Regions from separate parts of the Homo sapiens genome. Here region 2 is linked to region 1. The links are contacts of gene promoters, found by promoter capture Hi-C in blood cells and fetal thymus (Javierre and others, 2016). All regions are on one chromosome and are shown on one strand. The core of a region is centred on a gene start or on the middle of the fragment in contact, and the rest is flanking DNA. Distances in the headings are between cores, read along the strand shown.

What was found. Contacts are between HindIII fragments. The CHiCAGO score rates a contact against its expected background, and 5 or more counts as called.
Region 2: a contact is called between a fragment that was not itself captured here and the fragment with the promoter of TLCD3A in region 1, in 1 of 17 cell types (neutrophils). The highest score is 6.0, in neutrophils.

The regions. Positions count from the first base shown.
Region 1 is chr17:730,814-734,952 of GRCh38, reverse strand. TLCD3A (TLC domain containing 3A) reads right to left here and starts at 2,357. Exons shown (of 5, transcript NM_024792.3): 1 at 2,184-2,357; 2 at 1,772-1,855. The coding sequence starts at 2,305. It overlaps LOC124903893 (a long non-coding RNA gene), which reads left to right and starts at 2,573. Exons shown (of 2, transcript XR_007065572.1): 1 at 2,573-2,774. RefSeq lists silencers at 1,941-2,040, 2,111-2,380, 2,401-2,880. The HindIII fragment of the contact is 13,049 bases long and covers 517-4,139 here.
Region 2 is chr17:440,023-444,161 of GRCh38, reverse strand. RFLNB (refilin B) reads left to right here. Exons shown (of 2, transcript NM_182705.3): 2 at 668-4,139. The coding sequence ends at 998. Among named protein-coding and RNA genes, the nearest start is that of RFLNB, 3.8 kb to the left of the region's middle. The HindIII fragment of the contact is 3,632 bases long and covers 289-3,920 here.

The DNA.
Region 1 (4,139 bases), core at 1,108-3,607:
CCCTGCACTTTGGGAGGCCTGAGTGGGAGAATGGCTTGAGCCCAGGAGTTCAGACCAGCGTGGGTGACAGAGCCAGACCCTGTCTAAAACAACAACGTACTATCTGAATTAAGTACTTAAATTGAGAAAACCACCTGGAGCTGTGACTTTGTCATTTTAGTGTCTGAATCCTTTAAGAATCTGACTAAATCCTTGGCCCCATACCACCTTCTGCCTATAATTTGGGGGGATTTTTAACTCCTTCTATCTAATCGCATTCTATGTGAAGGCATAAAATGAGAAGGCATATAATAGAAAAATATTCAGTATATAGTATATGAACCCTGAAAGGCCTTTTTTGGCTGGGTGCAGTGGCTCACGCCTATAATCCCAACACTTTGGGAGGCCCAGGCAGGAGGATCGTTGGAGCCCAGGAGTTCAAGACCAGCCTGGGCAACGCAGGGAGACCCCTGTCTCTACCAACAACAACAAAAAAAAGTTAGCCAGGTGTAGTAGTGTGTGCCTGTAGTCCAAGCTTGGGAGGCTAAGGAAGACGGGTGGCTTGAACCCTGGAGTTCAAGACTACAGTCAGCTGTCATTATGCCACTGCACCTCAGCCTGAGGTCTCGACAGGAAAAAAAAAAAGTAAAAAATTTGCTGGGTGTGGTGGCTCATGCCTGTAATCCCAGCACTTTGTGAGGGTGAGGCAGAAAAATGACTTGAGCCCAGGAGTTCAAGACCAGCCTGGGCAACATAGTGAGACCCTGTCTTTAAAAAAAAAAGAAGAAGAAGAAGAAGAAAAATTGTACCCAGCCACACCAATATTAACCTTTGGTGTCTACAATCGATGTCACTTGATCTATCGTAGCATCTACTTATTCATCGCCAATAGCCAGTTTTGTTTTTAAAAAGGCAGAAGAAAAGCACAAAAATCATGACAGCAGGATTGATCCCAGGTAAGACCGCAGGCTAGAGTGAGACGGACAGCTTGCTCAGGCCCCTCGCAGTTCAGTCTCAGCAGGTGAGAAGCAGGACTTGGCAGAGCCCACAGGAGAGCAGGGCCTGGAAAGGCCGTTCAACTTCCTGCACATCCGACTGTGGTCCTTCAACTTGGGAGAAAGTGAGTGTGATTCCAGCAAGACCGGTGGGGAAAAAAAAGGCTTGAAATAATAAAAGCACCACCATTGTCCAGGTCTAACTACTGTACAAAGTCGACTATTCTGGTCTTAATTTATGATTTGTTTCACTGGAACTGCAGATAGGTGCACATTTCCTGACCTGCCTCTGGACTGACCTCTGATAGACGTACAAGTCCGTGTTCTAAGCGCTGGGAACCTCTCAATCACCTTTAGCAAATCTGCAGGAAAAGCAAGAGCGGCGTTTGCGTGGAAGGGGGTGGTGGGTTGGTTCCTTTCCATGGAGGGGGCTCTGCTAACCACACTGGACGTCTGTTAGCCAGTGATGCTCCAGAGTGAGAACCCAGTGAAGCCAACTGCAAGAATCAAGCCACACTCCCAGTCGTAAATGCTTCCACGCTTATCTCTTCCATGAAGGACCTGGATCCCTGGCTCACACCACCTGAAATCAGACTCCGACTCTGTCGTCCTCCCTCATTTCCGTGGACTTTCTCCTAAGCTGGGGGTGCCCGAAGACTCCGGAGAGGAAGAAGGAGCCCATTGTGGTGCCAGCTTTTCCCATTAGTCAGCTTTCTGAGCGCGTGTGCTGCGAGAGCCAGAGCCTGCGAGCTACTGAAATGTGACATTTGCAACAAGGCCCCGGCCCGGGCTCTTACCTGCCGGTGATCACGTCGTCGCAGGAGCGAATGATGACGATCCCCGAGCCGGTGGCCAGCACGGCGTGCACCGAGGAAACCAGCCTAGCGCGGGCGGAGAGAACAGCGCGCGCGCTCAGTCCGGTCCGAGGACCGCAGGGAGCCCGGCCCGGCCCTTCGGCCTGACTCTCCCCAGCCGCAGGCAGATGTGGGGAGCGGGCTCCGGAGGCTCATCGGCCATTCCCGCCCGCCCCGGCCCCGCTCCCGCCAGGGGAGGACGCGGAGGGGCTTCGGAAACTCGGGCCGCCGGGACGCGGAGGGAGCAGCCCCCGGGCTTCCTGCCGCCCCCCTTTTCCGCCCTGGGCCCCGCGGCCGGGTGGGGTGCGGTGGGCAGCGCCCCGGGCCTCGGGGGGCGTCTCGGCGGCGCCGGTACCTGGTGCTGATCATCACGCAGTCGGTGCGGCTCCATCCGGGCTGGGAGCGGCGCAGCGCCCAGGTGCAGAGCGCGAAGAGCCCCGGGAAGAAGAGCGCGCCCCCGGCCAGCGTCAGCAGCATCGGGGCTGCGGGTCCGGCCGCCTCGCTGGCGCCGCGTGGCTGGGTTCGGCTCGGCGCGCCCCGGCCCGGCCGCGCGATTTCAACCCTCCGCCCCCGTCCCCGTCCCGCCTCCGCCCGGCGCTGGCCCCGATCCCGCGGCGCGGCTCTGCGCGTGACCAGGCCCGGCGGCTGCGATAGGGCGGGGCGGGGTCTCTCGCGGTCCCTGGGCCCGGAGGGTTCCCCGGCGTCCCCGGCGGGCGGGTGGGCGGGGGCGGAGGCGGGGACCGAGGCGGCGGCTGTGGCCGGGGCCGCGGCGCGCGCGCGTTCCGAGTCCGCCGCTCCCTCCCGAGCGGCCGCGGGGCCCAGGCGGAGGCGGGAAGGGCCGCGGCTCCCGGCTTCTGTTCCGTCAGCGGACGCGCCCCTCCCCGACCTGCTCTTCTCGCCGGCCCCGGGCGAAGGGGCGGGGTGGGCGCGGGGCCGAGGAAGCCAGGTAGGAACCCCCTCCGGGGTGGGGCGAGGCCCGCGGGGAAGGAAGGAGGGAGGCGGCGTGTGGCCCTGGGTTCGCGGGCCCCGTCCACCAAGCCCTGGTGCTTCTCGGTGGGAGGCCTCAGGATGTGGCCTCTCCCCGCACGGCCGAGATGCTTTTCCCGGTGCCGCCAGCGGCTGCAGCCGCTCCGGGGTGGCCCTCAGGAAGCGTGAGGTCCGGGGGCCTCCAGCAGCCCCTCTCCACCTGCACCAGGAGGCGGACTGTGGAGGCTGCAGGCTCTTACTGCCTCTCGGCTTTGGATCTATCCGGAGACACCATCCAGAGGCGTAGGGACTGTGGTGTTGTTCACAACGTGTCGTTATTTAAAAGTATCGGGGTCGGGCGCGCCTGTAACCCCAGCACTTGGGGAGGCCGAGGCGGGCAGATCACTTGACGTCAGGAGTTCGAGACCAGCCTGACCACCACGGTGAAACCCCGTCTCTACTAAAAATACAAAATTAGCCAGGTGTGGTGGTGCCTGTCTGTAGTCCCAGCTACTCTGGAGGCTGAGGCAGGAGAATCGCTTGAACCTGGGAGGCAGAGGTTGCAGTGAGCCGAGATCACGCCACTGCACTCCAGCCTGGGCCACAGAGCAGGACTCTGTCTCAAAAAACAAACAAACAAACAAACAAAAAAACAGTTATCGGGACAGGCGTCTAAACTTGAATGAATTGGAATACATTTCATTTGTGCCAAGCACCAATCACATGGATGAAGACAGGAATTTCAGTATCATTGGCTTCTGTCCTTTAGGAACTACCAGCTTTATTTTGCTTTGGTCTGTATCTTCCTCAGCTAACAAACGTAGGGGGTGGGAAATACAGTTCATTTATGTTACTACAAATGAAAGGTATGACGGGTCTCCTCAGATCACCGTCATGCAAAATGCTGACCAAAATCCCGTATGAGGACTTCGGAACAGCTGGGCTCGGCTCTCTGGGCCACGATTTGCTGGTCCGTGAAATGAGAGGGAGGCTGGATCACTAGCTCTTTAACGGTCTTCCAGCTCTAGATTCTTATGAGTCTATGACTTTTACAAAGTGGCAGATGATTTCTGTTAGGTGCCAGTTAAATTACTTTAACACGGCAGTTAGTGATGTAGGAACTGGTGTAGAGTGAGCACAGCTTTTGTTTTTTTCAATTTGGATTCATTCATGATGGAGTCTGAAGATGTTTCTCAGGTTTAAAAGATAGTTTTCCTTCAGTGGTAGTATCAGTTACTAGGCTGTGACCTTTTGGAATGAATGTAGCCTCTAACATCTTCCTATATGTGGTTAAGAAAAGGGACTTAGCCAACAGGACGGTGGCAGACAGCCTCAAGAAAAGCCT
Region 2 (4,139 bases), core at 855-3,354, 290 kb after region 1:
CTGAGGTCGGGAGTTTGAGACCAGCCTGGTCAACATGGTGAAACCCCGTCTCTAGTAGAAATACAAAAATTAGCAGGGCGTGGTGGCGGGCGCCTGTAATCCCAGCTACTCAGGAGGCTGAGGCAGGAGAATCACTTTAACCTGGGAGGCGGAGGTTGCAGTGAGCTGAGATTGCACCACTGCACTCTAGCCTGGGTGACAGAGCGAGACTCCATCTCAAAAAAAAAAAAAAAAAAAGAGGAAACGGAGGCTCGGAAGAGTGAAGTAACTTGGCTGAGGTCTTAAGCTTGTGCGAGTGGGAGCAGGATCCAGGGCTGCTGCCCGCAGTGGCTAACAGTGATGTGGGGCCAGCTTTGGAAGCCTGCACCCCTGTATTTAAATCCCAGCTCCAGTACTCAGTGGCGCTGTGACCTTCACCTCTGCACCTCGGTTTCTTCTCTCAGGGTCGTTGGGGAGATTAAATTGGATCCCGTAAGTAAAGTACTTAGACGACGGGTACCTGGCACATAGTAAGTACTTTATAGACTCTGTGACCCTATGCTGCTTCTCACTGGGGCGGCCACGTTTCTACATGTGCACCCCACAAATGACTCACGGTCACAGTGGGGACCCCAAGCCCCCGGCTCAGAGGAGCGGCTTCACGCGGCCTCTTATGTCTCCCGCCCAGGTACACCTCCTTGGTCAAGTACGACTCCGAGAGGCACTTCATCGACGACGTGCAGCTGCCCCTGGGCCTGGCGGTGGCCTCCTGCAGCCAGACGGTCACCTGTGTCCCCAATGGCACGTGGCGCAACTACAAGGCCGAGGTGCGCTTCGAGCCACGCCACAGGCCCACCCGCTTCCTCAGTACCACCATCGTGTACCCCAAGTACCCCAAGGCCGTCTACACCACCACCCTGGATTACAACTGCCGCAAGACGCTGAGGAGGTTTCTGTCCAGCGTGGAGCTCGAAGCCGCGGAGCTCCCGGGCAGCGACGACCTCTCTGATGAATGCTGACCCAGCAGGCTGGGCTGGGGTCGGACCGGCTCTCCCGCTGTCCTGCCCCCGACTGCCCTGGCCAAGCTGGGCGACCTTACCCTTCACGTCATTCCAGCCCCAGAGGAGTCTAACCTAGAGATACCTCCAAGCGCGGCCGGGGGAAGAGAAAAAAAAGAAAAAATCACTGCATCTCATAATTATTGAGATCTTTGTGTTGTAATTTTCAAGCTGTTTTTAGAGGGAATATATGTCCTGGTTTGCTGCTGTGTTGTTTCCCCAAAGTCTCAATCAGATGAGGCAACAAAAAGACCACCAGAATTGCAGGAAAGCAGCAGCAGTCTGGGATAGGGAGGGGGGAGGAGAGCTCTCCCTCCGTGGTCAGTTTGTCAGAAGAAAAGCATGGAAAAAGTGAGATTTAAGAAATCTCAGCCACGGGTGTCTTCACTGCACAAAAGTGGTGCTAATTCAGTAAACAGTGACACCTGTGTGGGTTCAATCTGTGGAGAGTTGAGTTCCATTCCTTTGTTTTTAAATTTCCACCTCCATTTGTGTTTCCTATTAACCTAAACTCTTGTAATTCTCTAAATCTTTTTTCATGATATAAAAAAAAAAGAAAATCCCAAACCACAATTTAAGATGCCTTTTTTTTTTAAAAAAAAAGGTTCTCCGTGTTGCCACCTGCTCCGGGAAGGCCAGGCCGATGGGCGGCCAGGTTTGGGAGCAGCGGCTTCGGCTCCGATTGCTTCCTGACGGTCAGTTCCAAGCACAGGCTCTGAGAAACGCCTCGAACCCTTGGTATCTGGTGACCGTCTCCGCAGGCTTCCGTGAGTCTCCGATAGGTGTTTTGGGCTTTTGGAATACTTTCAGAATACTTTCCCATTTTTTCATAAGGCAAAACGGAGTGGACGGCCTTTTTTTGAGAGAAACAGCATTCTAAGAGTGTGCTTGGAAAACACACTTTTTGGGAGTCCACGTGGGGAGTGGACACTCAGGACAGGAAGCGGTGGCCCTAAGACCTGCGGCCACCCGGAGGAGGCAGACGCAGGCGATGACCTGGTTCATCATGAGAGGAGCTAGAGTTGACTCAGTCTTAGGATCTCGATGGCGTCAGAATTGCAGAGGGTTTCTGCCAGTGCCTTAGGTCTAATTCAGAAAGCAAGGAAGGCTGGGCACGGTGGCTGGCGCCTGTAGTCTCAGCTACTTGGAAACTGAGGCAGGAGGATCTCTTGAGCCCAAGAATTCGAGACCGGTCTGGCAACATAGTGAGCCTCCATCTCTAAAAAAAAGTGGCAAAGCTGAGGAAATCTGTGCCCCCATCCCCCGACACCAGACAAGCTAAGGTGCATTCAGAGTAGGGAACGATGTCAAAACCTGGCCGCCGTGGTGGCGCGCATTCCTCTCACACCACCGTACGGAGGCAGGTGACAGTCAACTGAAATGTCCCCAAGGACCGTGTGAATTCGGCTGGCGTGGCCCAGCAGCGGGGTGGACCAGGGTGCGGTGGCTTCAGACCTGCCTCCCGCCACCCCGTCCTCCCCTAACCCCTTCTTGGGACCTCCTGCCAATCCCTGTGGTGTTTGAGTAAAGAAAGTGGCTGATGGTTTTACTTTTTTCTTCCAATATTGGAAAGAACAAACTAGATATTCCCCTTGAACACATCCAAATTATTTCCAGTGCCTGAGGGTTACCGAGCACTGTAAGCTCAGCTCGGCTGTAGCTCCGGGTTTCTGCCGATGGCCTCCATCTGCGCCGAAAGCTGAACTGAGCCCCGCGGTGCCCCGGAGCCACAGCAGCAGGTGCAGCGACAATCGCCGTCGTGCGCAGTCGCTGGAGTCCTGGAGAGCCACGCTGTCCTCTGCAGACAACAGCATCAGTCCGCTGTGCCCCAATGCATCGACGCCCTGTGGACGGGGCCTGCAGTCCACCCGTGGTCTGAGCTTGCCGGGCTGAAGCTCGGCTGGGACCCAGGGAGGGGCCACCCTGGGACCCACAGTCTCCTCAGTCACGTGCAGAGCAAAAAATGCTTCCTGTGTTTGGAAGAGCAAGTGACGCAGCATTTATTGATAAAAATGGATTTTTCTGTCTGATTTCATGCTGTGGTCGTTTAAGTGGTCAATGTCTTTTTTTTTTTTTTTTTTGACATGGAGTCTCGCTCTGTTGCCCAGGCTGAGTGGAATGGCGCCAACTCAGCTCACTGCAACCTTCACCTCCCAGGCTCAAGCGACTCTCCTGCCTCAGCCTCCTGAGCAGCTGGGATTACAGGTGCCCACCACCACGCCCAGCTAATTTTTGTATTTTTAGTAGAGACGGGGTTTCACCATGTTGGCCAGGCTGGTCTCGAACACCTGACCTTGTGATCCACCCGCCTCGGCCTCCCAATAATTTGTAAGTTATGTTAGCGGGATCCTCAAGGCCTTGCTTTGCCCCGTGGAGACGCTTGCTCGGATGAGCTCAGGAAACAGTACCGGCTGCGTGGCAGGTCTGGGTGTTGTGTGCGAGGACGTGGCCTTTGAACACCGCTGTGTTCTCAGAGGTCCTTAGGAGATATTTTTTTTTGTCTTAGGGGGACTGTGTTAAGTTCAGACAAATCATGCTGGGTGTGTAGAGAGTGTGAAATACGTCAGTGAAGTAAGTAGCAGTGAGCGATTGTGAATGTGTAATGTAAATGGAAAACCGGGTTTTACCGTGTTAAGTTATTCACTAGGGAGCCAGTCGTAGTTCTTTGTAATCCTCTTTCTTCCAAACCTGCTTTGCTGAAAGTTGCAGAAAAGGAAGTGTGTGGAGAGAAACAGAACCCTTCAGGGTGGGTCAGAGGACGCCATCCACAGTGGATTCGTGTTCGTTTGCAGGTGGAAGCAGTGATTTTTAGGACCCACTGATTAAAAACAAACATTCCCAAGTGTCTCTGAGAGATGCTGTTTATTTGTTAATTAAAAAGCTTTTTTCTCTGTCTTTTAAATTATGGCTTTCATGTAATAAGGATATTTTTAGTGAAAAATTGTTTTCCTTTCAAATTACAGACCTTTTAAAAAAACTTAATTTGAGCGAGTACCTTTTCATTTGACACTTTTCCTGTTTCTAACCTTAGGAAACCAGAATAGCGTTTGGCAGACACGACGTTTTCAGTTTACCTTTGACACCTGCCCCACTCCATTTTGC